Linked DNA regions of Homo sapiens: region 2 is linked to region 1. The links are contacts of gene promoters, found by promoter capture Hi-C in human tissues and cell types (Jung and others, 2019). All regions are on one chromosome and are shown on one strand. The core of a region is centred on a gene start or on the middle of the fragment in contact, and the rest is flanking DNA. Distances in the headings are between cores, read along the strand shown. Region 1 holds the start of ADD1 (adducin 1). Region 2 overlaps GRK4 (G protein-coupled receptor kinase 4).

Region 1 (7,227 bases), core at 3,665-6,164:
TGCCTGTTATCCTAGCATATTCAGAGGCTGAGACAGGAGGATCACTTGAGACCAGGAATTCAAGACCAGCCTGAGCAACACAGCTCAGGCTTTTGAAACCTTATCTCAAAAAAAAAAAAAAATTAGCCAAGCCTGTTGGCATGAACCTGCAGTCTTAGCTACTTCAGAGTCAGAGGTGGGAGAATGGCTTAAGCCCAGGAGTTCAAGGCTGCGGCAAACTATGATCACATCACTATATTCCCGCCTAGGTGACAGAGCAAGAGTCTGTCTCAAAAAAAATAAATTAATTAAATAAATATATGCTCAACATGTTTAAGCTGACAGTTATCAAAAACAGTGTTACACATTAGTTATAACAACTGTTTAAAAAGGTACTTCTAGAAAAATTAAGCTCAAAAGGCAAACTGTATTAAATGTGCTTCCCCTCATTCCTTTAAACTCAAGGTTCCTCAATGTAGAAAGGCCAGAATAAGCATTAACAATTAAACAACTCTATTAAAGTTTAATATTATGCTATGTTAAGATTCCTATTTTTTTTTTTTTTTGAGACGGAGTCTCACTCTGTCCCAGGCTGGAATGCAATGGCACGATCTCAACTCACTGTAACCTCCGCCTCCTGGGTTCAAGTGATTCTCCCGCCTCAGCCTCTTGAGTACCTGGGATTACAGGCATCCACCACCAAGCCTGACTAATTTTTGTATTTTTAGTAGAGACAGGGTTTCATCATGCTGGCCAGGCTGGCCTCGAACTCCTGATCTCAGGTGATCCACCTGCCTCGGCCTCCCAAAGTGCTGGGATTACAGACGTGAGCCACCATGCCCAGCCTTGCCTCCCACTCTATTCAAAGTCATCCCTTTGCTCACTGAGATAGATGCATATCTGGTTGCCTCCTTAGGAAAGGCTTATCAGAAACTCAAAAGAAGGCAACCATTTGTCTCTCACCTACTTGTGACCTGGAAGCTCCCTCCCTGCTTCAAGCTGTCCCCGCCGTTCTGGACTGAACCAATGTACTTCTAGCATATATTGATTGATGTCTCATGTCTCCTTAAAATGTATAAAACCAAGCTGTGCCCAACCACCTTGGGCACATGTCAATCAGGACTTCTGGAGGCTGTGTCACAGGCACACATTCTCAACACTAGCAAAATAAACTTTCTAAGTTAACCGAGACCTGTCTCAAATTTTCGAGGTTCACGTGTTCATCTTGTTCTGAGACTGAAATGTGTACGGTGTGGGTTGAAACAGTGAGCAAGTAGAACCAAAATGTTTGGCTTAGAAGAAAAGTAGATACAGGTATATAAAAATGAGAAGGTTGAGTAGAATCCTAGTCTTACTTCCTTTTTTTTTTTGAGACGGAGTTTCGCTTTTGTTGCCCAGAATGGAGTGCAATGGCACTGCGACCTCCGCCTCCTGGGTTCAAGCGATTCTCCTGCCTCAGCCTCCCTAGTAGTGGGGATTACAGGCATGCACCACCATGCCCAGCTAATTTTTGTATTTTTAGTAGAGATGAGGTTTCACTGTTGTCCAGGCTGGTCTCAAACTCCTGACCTCAGGCGATCCACCTGCCTCAGCCTCCCAAAGTGCCGGGATTGTGAGCGACCGCACCTAGCTTGTTTTTTGTTTTTGTTTTTGTTTTTTTGAGACGGAGTCTCGCTCCGTGTCGCCCAGGCTACAGTGCAACGGAGCGATCTCCACTCACTGCAAGCTCCGCCTCCCGGGTTCACGCCATTCTCCTGCCTCAGCCTCCCGAGTAGCTGGGACTACAGGCATCCGCCACCACGCCCAGCTAATTTTTTGCGTTTTTAGTAGAGACGGGATTTCACCATGTTAGCCAGGATGGTCTCGATCTCCTGACCTCATGATCCGCCCGCCTCGGCCTCCCAAAGTGCTGGGATTACAGGTGTGAGCCACCACGCTCGGCTTTTTTTTTTTTTTTTTTTTAAAGAGACAGAGTAGTGCAGTGAAGTGATCATGGCTCACTGTAGCCTCGACCTCCCAGGCTCACAGGTTCGTACCATCTTAGCCTCAGGAGCAGCTACGATTACAGGCCCATCCTAGCATGCCCAGCTTCATTGGCTACTTTTGAAGGATATTAGCGAAACAATTCATTATGTGAAACCTAGTAAATAATGGAGAAGAATTAAGCATTTATCCTCCCTTTTCTGTAAGAGATACCTCAAGATAACCAAATAGTGGAGGCATGAAAAATTATCTTTATAAAAATATTCTATTTAATAAAAGAAGTTATAGAATTCAAATATCAATATATTCAATGCTTGCTGAAATGACTGTAGGCACTGACAATCAAGGGCTGCGAACAAAGACTACTAATCATTTCTGCCTACTTACCTAAGAAGTTTGCTTGACAAAAGTAAAGCTGAATCTGATCATACCTTTAGATCTAACCACCAGTTTTCAGTAAATTCTGTGAAACTATGCCACAGAGTAAAATTGAGACTGTGCATAACTCCACATGACAAACTACCAGGTTTCATCCATAAATAAATTACAAGAGAAAACTAAATATGGAGGGGAAACTATCAATTAAAATGAGTCACACTGTATAGATAGCATGTGGATCGATTGAAATTGTTAAGAAAAAAAATGAGAATTCTGACAATTTTAACACTGGCTGGATATTTGAAAGTATTAAGGAATTATTCATTTTCTGTGATAGTGGTACTCATGTTTACCTTTTGTTTAAGTCTTTAAGATATACATATTGAACTATTTAACGGTTAAAGGATATCTAGGACTGCGGGGATATGATGAAGCAAGATTGACTGTTGAAACTGGTTGAGAAAAGGGGTTTATACTATTCTCTCTACATATGTGTATATGTTAAGAGGTAAACATGGAAGGAAAGAAAGGAAGGGCAGTCAATCTAACTCTAAGTTTCAAGCAATAAGTAAATATTTTGTTATCTTTCAAAGCATTTCAGTATTTACTTTTCTTATTCAATTCAAAGACTATAAGAACTAAAAACTAAAAATCATGTAAATAAACAGTTTTTATGGCAAAATCAGTAACACAAAACTGAACACCAAACAAAACCTTCTCAGTATATCAGATAACATCAAAAGAATTAAGGGGAAAAATGACCAGCTTGTACGAAGTATATTTTAGAAGGAAAACTATCTCACAATTCGGGGACTGGCTAGAGTTTAGACTCACATCACTCAGCGACTCTCCGAAACTTTAAAACCTAAAGACACCACAAGTAGAAAACTAACAAATCATACCAGCTGTCCATACCATTGTAAACCACATCGAAACTCTGAAAAGCAGTTTTGACTGCCCAAATCATCCACTTCCTGAAAAGACAACTTTACTATTCTAGTTTTCTCCACTGTCAAAATCAAAGGAGTATATTAAAATTTTAACGTAGGCCAGGCGCGGTGGCTCACGCCTGTAATCCCAGCACTTTTGGAGGCCTAGGCGGACGGATCACGAGGTCAAGAGACTGAGACCATCCTGGCCAACATGGTGAAACCCCGTCTCTACTAAAAATACAAAAATTAGCTGGGCGTGGTGGCGCGCGCCTGTAGTCCCAGCTACTCGGGAGGCTGAGGTAGGAGAATTGCTTGAACCTGGGAGGCGGAGATTGCAGTGACTGGAGATCGCGCCACTGTACTCCAGCCTGGCGACAGAGCGAGACTCCGTCTCAAAAAAAAAAGGTATCATCGCGGGCCTTTGTCCATTCAAGGCTCCAAAGTTTACAAACTCACTTTCATACAATTCACACCCTCTGCCTGAAATGCCCTCCTCTCTCTGGTGCCTGTTGAACTCCTACTCATCCACTCCAAGCTTGTTTTCACTAGGCGCCTCTACTCATAGACACAGTCGACCTATCAGCATTCTATTTCCTATCCCCATTAAGATCTCAGTCAATTTTTCACACAAAAAATCTTTCTTTAACTTACCAGTAATGCATACAGCTATCAGCTATGTCTTTGGTCTTTGGAGATATGACAATTGCTTTTTGTCTTTCTAAACATAAATTATGCTCAAACCAACAACAGTTTCAGGCGAACCAAAATACGTTTTTCAAGGTGGGTATGCATAAAGTGAATGCAAATTACCTCCCAACTATCTTGAGCCATTACAAGAGCAAAGATAAAAGTCATCCTAACAGGGAAAGGCCCTCTGACATCTCCCAAAAAACGAAAATAAAAGATTAAGAAAAAAGAAAAGAGAGGGAGGGCAAAGGTGACCAACAGCCCCATCGCTGATAAAGTTCCACGATTATCTCTCGAGCGTCCGTCGGCAGATATGGCTTTTCTCTTTTGGCAGAAGCCGTCGTTTTTAAATACGAGAGCCGACAGATGCGTCCGTACACAAACCTTGCAGCCACCAGCGCTGCGGACCGCGGAACCGGTCTCACAAGCAGGATGCTGACCAGCGTCCAGCCAGGGTCGTCCTCCTCCGCCCCCACCCCTGCAGCCCACAAGCCGGCCAGGAACGAGCGGCCCGGGAAAAGCCTAGTCCCCGGGGTCCTATCCCGATGAAAGATCTGCGGCGCCCTCGCTCCCCGGCTCGGCCCAGGCCGAAGGCCCCGCGGGGACCCCTCCAAGACGCCCTCGGCGCCGCAGCGGCCTCCCCGCCCCCGAGGCTGCCCGGGCCGCCGCAGGCCCCGCGGCCCCCGCCCGCCGCAACCGCGGCCCAGTTCCCCGCGCCCCCGCCGCCGCCTCAGCCCGAACCGGGCCCCCGCCGCCCCCGCTAGCTAGCCTCACCTCAGAAGCGAATCGTGGGCAGCGCGCGGGATTCCGGGGTCCCAGTGCGGCCACCGCCCGTCGGCTCCGGCTCCGGCTCCGCCCCCGTCCCCTGGCCCGCAGCAGCGGCCCGCCAGGCCTCTCCGCCCCTCAGCCCCTCCGCTCGCCCCCACCGCCCGACCTGGGTGCGGCCTGCGGCGCTGCAGCCCAACAACGCGCCGTCCCATAGGCCAAGCCGCGCAGCACTGCCGAGCAACGTACCCTGCGATTGGCGGGACCCATGAGGGGCGGGTCCCCTGCGGGCAGGGCGATTGGACTCGCCAGGCCCGCCTCGGGGCGACCCCGCCGGGGCCTGCGGAGGCCCAGGGTCCCGCGCGGAGTACACCCCGGCCGGCAGCTTCGGGCGCCAGGTCATGGCTTCACGGTGGCCAGGTAGACTGCGGCGAGCCCCTGCCGGGTCCGCTGGACACGGTTTCATTGTGATTGACCTCCGCCGGAGGGGCTGTCGGAGCCCAGGGACCCTGCCCTCCCGCCGCCGCCCAGCGCACTCCCCCAGCAGACGGGCCCTGCCCCGCGTAGCCCCGCCTTGTGCAGTCCCCAGGCCGAGTTTTGGGGCCCGGGTGGGGTCAAGGCAGCAGGGCCTGTGGGCCCCGATAAGGCTCCACAGAGGACAACTGCCTGGCCCCCGGGCCCGGCCTGCGGGTGCTGAGGAGACCAGCGAGCACCAGCCACCTCCGCACGACCAGGGAGTGAGCCTGCGGGGCTTTGGCAGGACCAGCCTCAGACCAGCACCTTCCCGCACACTGTCCCTCCTGCTGGCGCATCTGACACCCAAAAAAACAAGCAGCGAGACAAATGGGCACGGCTGCTTGTCCTCTTGACACCCATAGAAAGCTTAGGTCCAGAGCTGGGCAGTGGCAGAAGAGTGTGGAATCCAGACCTCCCTGCTCAGCAGGAGCCTCTGTGACATTGCCCCAACAAGGGTCAGGGATACTGTCTGGATGGAAGCCAGCGACCCCTGTTCTAACCATTTCTGTTGGACGTTGGCTTTTCCAAGACGATTTTTCTGACAAGATCACAATTCTGTCTCATTCACTTCTGCTTCCCATAGTTAATCACTAGGGAAACGCAAATCAAAACCACTGTGGGATACCACTTAACATTCATTAGGATGGCAGTTGAAGAAGCAGGGAGTTGGGCGCAGTGGCTTCAGCCTAAAATCCCAGCACTTAGGGAGGCAGAAACAGGAGGATAGCCTGAGCCCAGGAGTTGGCAGACTTGACTGGACAACATAAGGAGACCCTGTTCTCTACAAAAACGAGAAGAAAACAAAAAGTTTCAAGGGGGGAGAAGGAGGAAGAAGAGGAAAAAAAGAAAATAAGTGTTGGCAAAGATGCGGAGAAATTGGAACCCTTTGTGCATCGCTGACGGGAATGTAAAATGGTGTGGCTGCTGTGGAAAACCGTAGAGTGGTTCCTCAAAAAATTAAACATAATTACCACATAATCCAGCAATTCCACTTCTGGATATATACCCCAAAGAAATGAAAACAGCTATTTGTACCATGTTCATAGCAGCATTATGCAGAGAAGGAAATTCTATTTATTGGGGTTTTGTGCCTTTTTTTTTTTTTTTTTTTTTTTTTTGGAGTCAGGGTCTCTGTCGCCCAGGCTGCAGTGCAGTGTTGCAACCATGGCTCACTGCAGCCTTGACCTCCTAGGCTCAAGGGATCCTCCTGCCTCAGCCTCCCAAGTAGCTGGGACTACCAGCACGTGCCAACATGCCTGGCTAATTTTTGTTATTTTTTGTAGAGACGGGATCTCACTATGTTGCCAGGGCTGGTCTCAAACTCCTAGGCTCAAGCAATCTTCCCAAATCCAAACTCAGCCTCCCAAAGTGCTGGGATTACAGGCATAAACCCATAAACCACGATGCCTGGCCAAAAGAAAGGAAATTCTGACGCATGCTACAACATGGATGAACACTGAAGACATGCTATGTGAAATAACCCAATCACAAAAAGATAAATGTATGATTCCACTTGTATGAGGTGTCTAGAGTAGTCAAATTCAGAGAGACAGGAGGTAGAATGGTGGTTGCAAAGGGCTGGAGGAATGGGGATTTAGTGTTTAATGGGTACAGAGTTTAAGCTTGGGGTGATGAAAAAGTTCTGGAGATGGATGGTGGTGATGACTGAACAATAATATGAATATTCGCAAAGCCACAGAACTGTACACTTTAAAATAATTAAAATGATAAACTTTATAATATGAAAATTTTATCATAATAAAACAATTTTAAAGCTATTAAAATATTCCTTCCTTTTCCAACTACAAAAAAGTAAAAAGGTCCAGGCGTGGTGGCTCTTGCCTGTAATCCTAGCAATTTGGGAGGCCAAGGCGGGAGGATTGCCTGAGCTCAGGAGTTAAGAGATCAACATGGACAACATGGCAGAACACTGTCTCTACTAAAAATACAAGAAATTAGCTGGGTCTGGTGGCAGGCACCTGTAATT
Region 2 (7,177 bases), core at 4,126-6,625, 140 kb before region 1:
CCTCTATAAAAAATATATATTTTTAATGAAAAAGTCAACAGCCAACTTTATAACTGCAGATCAGAAAATCTAAAGGATTTTTTTTCCTGAGAGGAATCATGAAGATATAAGGAGAATTTATCATAAAATGTTTGAAACAAACATGGAACTCAAGAAAGAATAACATCTAATGAATGGTATCATGCCAGATGTACCATCCAAGCATTAGTAGGCACTATTTACTCACCAATGGAATGTCTAAGCTCACTGCACTGGCTGACAGGAGGCAGTGTCAGTATCTCCTTCCATTTTTTACTACGACCACTTTTTTTGCCATATCCTCCTGAATTTGGGAGAAAAAAGGCAATTTCCTTTAACAGTCAGAAATATCCAATTATAACAACTACTTCCACCAATATATCTTAACATTTCTGTTTGAGTGGTTTGGGTACCTATCATGAATAAAAATACATGCTTATAATAATTTGTCTTATCTGGAAAGCTGCTTGATGAAGTATAAAATTCCCAAGGGAAGCAATCTGTCACTAGCTCTGCCATTTAGAAGCCATGGTGAGCCTCAGTTTCCAAATCTGTAAACAAGATCTAACATGACATATTGTTCAGGGCTGCTTATAAGTATTTATCAAAGAAATATTTATTGAGCATCTACTATGTACCAAAAACCTTCAAAGCACTAGGCATATGATGGTAAAAAAGACCAAGTCCCTCCCTCGCATTCTAAGTGAGGGAGTGATATGGTTTGGCTCTGTGTCCCCACCCAAATCTCATCTCAAATTATAATACCCACATGTCGAGGGAGGGACCAGGTGGGAGTCCCGTGATTGGATCGTGGGGACGGATTCCCCATGCTGTCCTGCGATAATGAGGGAGTTCTCATGAGATCTGATGGTTTTAAAAGTGGCAGTTTCCCTTGTGCTCTCTCTCCCCCTCTCTCTCTCCTGCCACCATGTAAGACGTGCCTTGCTTCCCCTTCGCTTTTCACCATGATTGTAAGTTTCCTGAGGCCCCTCTAGCCATGCAGAACTGTGAGTCAATTAAACCTCTTTTATTTATAAATTACCCAGTCTCAGGTAGTATCTTCACAGCAGTGTGAAAATGGACTAATACAGGGAGACAGGTGCACAAATCAGATAATGATAAGAGATAAGAAAAAAATGCTAATCATATAGTGATAAATATGAAACAAAATCAAGCAGGGTAAAGGTGGAAGGTGCTGTTTTGACTAAGGTAGGATCAGAGAAGACCTCCCTACAGGGGTCACATTTAGGCAGAGGCCTGAAGGATGTGAGTGGCAGAGTCTTGGCAAGTGCTGGGAGAAGAGCATCCCATGGTGAAACCAGAATGATGGAAAAGGCTACACTATAATACTTCAGAAAGATCTTTTAAACAAGCACCATTTTTTCTTTAATTCAACTCAGAGAAATGAGCATCTTCAATCTCAAGCCTTCTGGGCAGCTAAAATTTTACTGAATTTTATCCAGGAGAACATAATGGCTTAGGCTGGGTGACTAAGACTCCAGGACCATTTGGAAGAATTAGGAAACCAGGGCAAAAGCCACATTTCCTTGGAACACGATGAGCTCTGTCTTAAATACGGTGAGTGTGGAAAATTGTAAGAGACAGACATTTGGAAGATGGGTAGACTGGGATGAGCTCAGAAGAGGCTCGGCTAGAGATACAGACTTGATATCTGCAAAAAAGAAAACCATCAAAGATGTAAGAGCTTCTTCCTCAGCCTTAGTTTTGCTCTTCTACTCCCCCTACTCAATATTTCAACTGAGATCATGAGCTCTGGACTCACGTCCCACACCACAAGATGTCCAGAGCACCTGGCATTCAACATGTTCACCCTAGACTCATAATCTTCCCCCTCAAATCCAGTCCACATTTTTTCTTTCTGTTAAGATTTGTTTATTTAATAAACATGTAACAACCACCTGCCAATGCCAGAGAATATGTCAAGTGCTGTGTCAGTGACAGCCATGTCCTATGTCACTGAAGGGTGGGGAAAGGGTGACCTGTTCCTCCTGTCCCTTCACAGAGAACACAGAAACTCATTCCAGAGAAGCAGTAGGCACTGAAAAAAGGCTATCATCTTTGGTTATGGGTTATTTTTTTCAGGGTTATTGCTGGTTCTCCCTTCAGTTGAAATAAGAACTGTTCTTTGGGATATGCCATTTTTATCTGACCTCTTAAAGGAGTACAGAGCTGAGCTGTCACTTGCCTGATGCAGTATTTTGCCCTCTAGATTCCACAAGTGGAAAACAAGCATGATCTACAAGTGCCCTGAGACATGGCTTACATCTTCAGTGGTGCTTCTGTGCCCAAGCTGCTGAATCATTGAGCAGAGAACAAGTCCCTCTTGGTCTTATTCATATTTCACTATCTCTGCTTTCTCTTGTTCCCTGGCTTCTCCCAACTTTACACTACTCAAGTAACTAGCAAGAAACATGGCAGCCTGGCTGCTATGTCCTTCCTTTCCTAAGCCTGACACTGCCTGTAGGCTTAGAACCAGTGCTTCCACCTTCCCAGGATCCAAGCAGCGAGGCAGGCAGGGCCTGGATGAGGTGGTGCTGGCAGCAGTGGCCAGTGCCGGCGGAAGCCAGGAACAGGTGGGAGCCCTACCCCCTTCCAGGTTGGTGGGGCAGGAGCCCCACACTACTGGGAGCAGCTGCAGCCACCCAGCCACAGCTGCTGACCTGGGCATCCCTGTGCTCTCAGGAGCCCAGGAAGCCCCCCTGCCCCTGCAGGCTCAGAAGTGCCTGTTCCCACTGACTGGCCTCTCACTGCTCCTGGCACCTGCTCCGATTTTGGATCAAAGTTGTGGCTGAGCCCAGGCACTGTCACAACCCAGCCAGGTGTGTGCACGATAGGGGCGGTGCTGACACACCAGCCACCTGCCACCTCAGCCCCCTCCAGACTTTGGACACCAATGAGCATGGCAGGGAGGCCAAGGCGTGGCTGAGTTCAGCTCAGTGCAGGCCAGGGCACACAAACAGCCAGGGCACCATGAACAAGGGCAGGAGGCAGACAGGCTCCTGGGTAGAAAGGGGCAGGGTCCCCAGTGAAACCTCACCTTCAAGCCAGGGATAGACTGAAGCCTGACAGCCGGGCTGCCAGTTCTGCAGACTGGAGTGAGAACTTATGGTGGTTTTTCTGGGCCCGCCCACGGACCAATCAGCATGTACTTCCTCCCCTCTGAAGCTTATAAAAACCCCAGACTCAGCCAGACTTGGGCAGAAAACAGGACAACCTGCCTGCAGAGAGGTGCTACCCACTGTGGGTCTCCTTTCCACTGAGGGCTGTATACTCATCAGGACAACCTGCCTGCAGATAGGAGCTACCCACTCCAGGTCTCCTCTCCTCTGAGGGCTGCACAGACGATGGGATGATCTGCCTGCAGAAAGGAGCTACCCATTTTGGGTCTCCTGAGAGCTGTACTGTCACTCAATAAAGCACCTCTTCTTGCTTACCCTCCAGTTGTCTGTGTACCTCATTCTTCCTGGACATGGGACAAGAACTTGGGACCCACTGAATGGTGGGACTGAAAGAGCTGTAATACAAACAGGCTGAAGCACACCCCCCAACTCACCACGTTGTGGGTGATGAGAAGGAGAGAAGAGAGGAGATAAGAGCTGTGGCCCCTTGGGGAGCCGAGACTTAGGACCTCCCCCAGCCAAGGCTGTGACACCCTCTTTGAAGCTCTGTGGTTCCTGAAGTCTCCAAGCTTCTGGGCGCCACCGCATTCCCTGGCACCCACAGTGGCAGCTGCTTGCAGTACGCTTGGTCTAGCCACAGCCACAGCAGGTAACCAGCGCCTGTGCCTGGAGCTGCCTGCCCTGCCACAGCTGGCATGCCTGGCTGTGCCCAATGGCCAGACCCCACACTCATTTGCTCATGCAACCCTTGCTGCTCTGCACCTGGCTTGCCCTTGGCAGGCATGGGATCTGGACCAGTAGTGAAAGACAAGCACAGCCTGCCAGGCCAAGTGGGTGGAAGGAGCCCAGTGGGCCCAAGCAAAACTCAGGTAAAGCCGCCACTGGCCACAGAAGTCTCCAGCTGGTGAAGTGACACCCTAAGGATCCTGTGACAGTGGCACAGCCGCTCAGCCCCAGTGGGTTTGTGTTCACGGGTATGTGGCACTGACGGTGGGGTAGGGTGGCAACAAGAGGTAGGCTGGATGCATTACCCAGGACTAGCCTGTCAGGCAAGAGGTGAGCTGTTCTGCTCCTCACAGATGGGCCCAAGGAAGACAAGGCTTCCAGTGAGTCCCTGTGCCTCATCTAGGTGCTGTTCTGGGGTATTTGCACATTGAGATCTCAGCATCTAGTAGGCTTGTTGTGGAGATTAAATAGGATAACTTGTATAGAAAGGTACCAGGCCCATGAGTGGGGTTCAGTGTTCCTTCCCTTCCCCTTTAGGGTATGTTTCCTACATCGACAGAAGATTCCCACTGAAGACTGGTTCCCGGGTTCCCATCTTGGATGATGAGGGAAACAAGTCAAGGTGCTAGGCTTTCCTCTTCATCCTGGCTGCTGCCACTCCCAGCCAGCTCCAGGCAGTGAAGGCTCCAGGGAGGCTGGGTGGCCATGGCAGCCCCAGTCATCCTTCCATACTGTGAATCCTGGCTAACAAATTATTTATTGAGAAGACATCTGCTGTCCATGTCCAGTGTGCCAGGCACTGTCCAGGCTCTGGGTACCCTGTGGAGGGTCAGGCAGCTGGTCCTAACAGGATGAAAGCACTCTTGTCAGACCCAAAGAAACTTGGAGCTGGGAAGGCACAAAGAAGGGTTCTTGCTTACATGTCTGAGATAAGAACCATTAGGAGGAGTGTCTAAAATAACCCCACAAGAAATTCTTTCACATCCTTCATGCATTTCATGCTTTTCACAACCTACATTTGGCACATATGCAGGTATTTCTGAGACCAGGTACACTGGACCATTTTTTTTCTTTTTTGAGATAGGGTCTTGCTCTGTCACCCAGGCTAGAATGCAGAATGCAAGTCTCACTGCAGCCTTGACTTCCTGGACTCAAGAGATCCAGCTACCTCAGCCTCCTCAGCAGCTGGGACCACAAGCATGCACCACCACACATGGATTTTTTTTGGGGGGGTAGGGGGACGGAGTTTCACTCTTGTTGCCCAGGCTGGAGTGCAATGGTGTGATCTTGGCTCACCACAACCTCCGCCTACTGGGTTCAAGCAATTCTCCTGGCTCAGCCTCCTGAGTAGCTGGGATTACAGGCATGTGCCACCACGCCCGGCTAATTTTGTATCTTTAGTAGAGACAGGGTTTCTCCATGTTGGTCAGGCTGGTCTCGAACTCCTGACCTCAGGTGATCCGCCCGCCTCGGCCTCCCCAAAGTGCTGGGATTACAGGCGTGAGCCACCGTGCCTGGCCACTCTTTTTTTTTTTTTTTTTTTTTTTGAGACAGAGTCTCCCTCTGTCACTCAGGTTGGAGTGCAGTGGCACCATCTCAGATGATTGCAACCTCCACCTCCTGGGTTCAGGTGATTCTCCCACTTTAGCCTCCAGAATAGCTGGGATTGCAGGCGCCTGCCACCACACCCAGGTAATTTGTGGGGTTTTTTTTTGTTTTTTTTTTTGAGACGGAGTCTCGTTCTGTTGCCCAGGCTGGAGTGCAATGGCGCGATCTCGGCTCACTGCAAGCTCCACCTCCTGGGTTCACACCATTCTCCTGCCTCAGCCTCCCAAGTAGGTGGGACTATAGGCGCCCATCACCATGCCTGGCTAATTTTTTTGTATTTACAGACGGTGTTTCACCACGTTAACCAGGATGGTCTCGATCTCCTGACCTCATGATCCGCCTGCCTTGGCCTCCCAAAGTGCTGGGATCACAGGCGTGAGTCACCGTGCCCAGCCTAATTTGTGTATTTTCAGTAAGAGACGGGGTTTCAGCATGTGGGCCAGGCTGGTCTCGAACTCCTGAACTCAGGAGATCCGCCCACCTCGGCCTCCCAAAGTGCTGGGATTACAGGCATGAGCCACTGTGCCTGGCCACACATGGCTATTTTTTTAAAAAGCTTTTGTAGAGAAGAGATCTTGCCATGTTGCCCAAGCTAGTCTCAGACCCCTGGGCCCAATCGACCCTCCTGCCTCAGCCTCTCAAACAACTGGGATTACAAGCATGAGCCACCTTGCCTGGCCTGGACTTTTTTTAGGACGGCAGCAATTGAGATAAGATGCTCTTGAAAGAACACCTGCCCCCTAGTGGCATCTCCACCACAGAACTGATGCCAACTACGATTTTGAGCCTCTGGAACCAGTGAACTCTGTTTCCAAGCAGCTTATGTGAACCTCTCCCTGTCTGCCAAATAAAAGCTTCCTCTTCCTTTCCCCTTTTCGGGTGCACCTGTGGCTCGCCATGGCTGTGCATCCCAAATTATAATCCTCTTTGCTTACTCCCTAATTCATTCATTAAATTCAGAGATATTTTTCTCTGATATCTTTTTTTAGATTGACAATAGAATCGATTAGCTCAATTACAGAATCCTATCAGACCAAGTTTTTAAAAGATTCTTAAAAACTTAGCATATTATCAATTAGCTTAATGTGTGAAGCCACAGTCTATGAGATAACCAAGAACCTTCTACATAAAGTAATTTTAAAGATGAAAGTTGTTTTCCCTTTTTCTTCCCACTCAATATGGATCTTTAGGATAGATTAATACAGCAACTGACTTTTAGGAATTTCTATAAAACCTAGTTTATTCTCAATTTTAGCTGTAAAAAAGAAGGAAAATATTTTATTGTCAAAAGAGATATAGTCAGGGCACCAAAGGCTCATGTTACAAAAGAAAAAATAGGCAAAATGAACTTCATAAGCCCATGGAATGGGGGAAAACATTTGCACATTATATACCTGATAAGGGATGAGTAATCAGAATATATAGTGAACTCCTAATAGTCACAACAGAGCTGCTGCTGGGAAGTGGCAGCCCAATGAGGGACATTTCCCAGTCCCCTGTGGGGAGGGGGGCCATCTGACTGTGATCTGGACAACAGAATGTGGACAGAAGTGTTTATGCCACTTCCACGCCTGGCCTGGAAGAATCTCCCACACGGTTCTCCGTGCTCTCTCGCTTCTTTGTTTCGTAGATGGACCGAGATCCACAGGAGGATCTTGGGAGCCATGTGCTGATGACTCAGAACT

What was found. The method cuts DNA at HindIII sites, captures the fragments that hold promoters and counts their contacts. A contact is called where the count stands out against the background at its distance.
Region 2: a fragment that was not itself captured here is called in contact with the fragment with the promoter of ADD1 in region 1 in 2 of the 25 tissues and cell types used here (hippocampus and pancreas).

What each region holds. Positions count from the first base shown.
Region 1 is chr4:2,841,531-2,848,757 of GRCh38, reverse strand. ADD1 (adducin 1) reads right to left here and starts at 4,914. Exons shown (of 16, transcript NM_001354761.2): 1 at 4,734-4,914. RefSeq lists silencers at 4,453-4,602, 4,723-4,912, 4,973-5,352, 5,453-5,502 and an enhancer at 5,631-6,142. The HindIII fragment of the contact is 4,953 bases long and covers 1,282-6,234 here.
Region 2 is chr4:2,977,658-2,984,834 of GRCh38, reverse strand. It overlaps GRK4 (G protein-coupled receptor kinase 4), which reads right to left. Exons shown (of 16, transcript NM_182982.3): 2 at 227-322. Among named protein-coding and RNA genes, the nearest start is that of GRK4, 18 kb to the right of the region's middle. The HindIII fragment of the contact is 3,818 bases long and covers 3,467-7,177 here.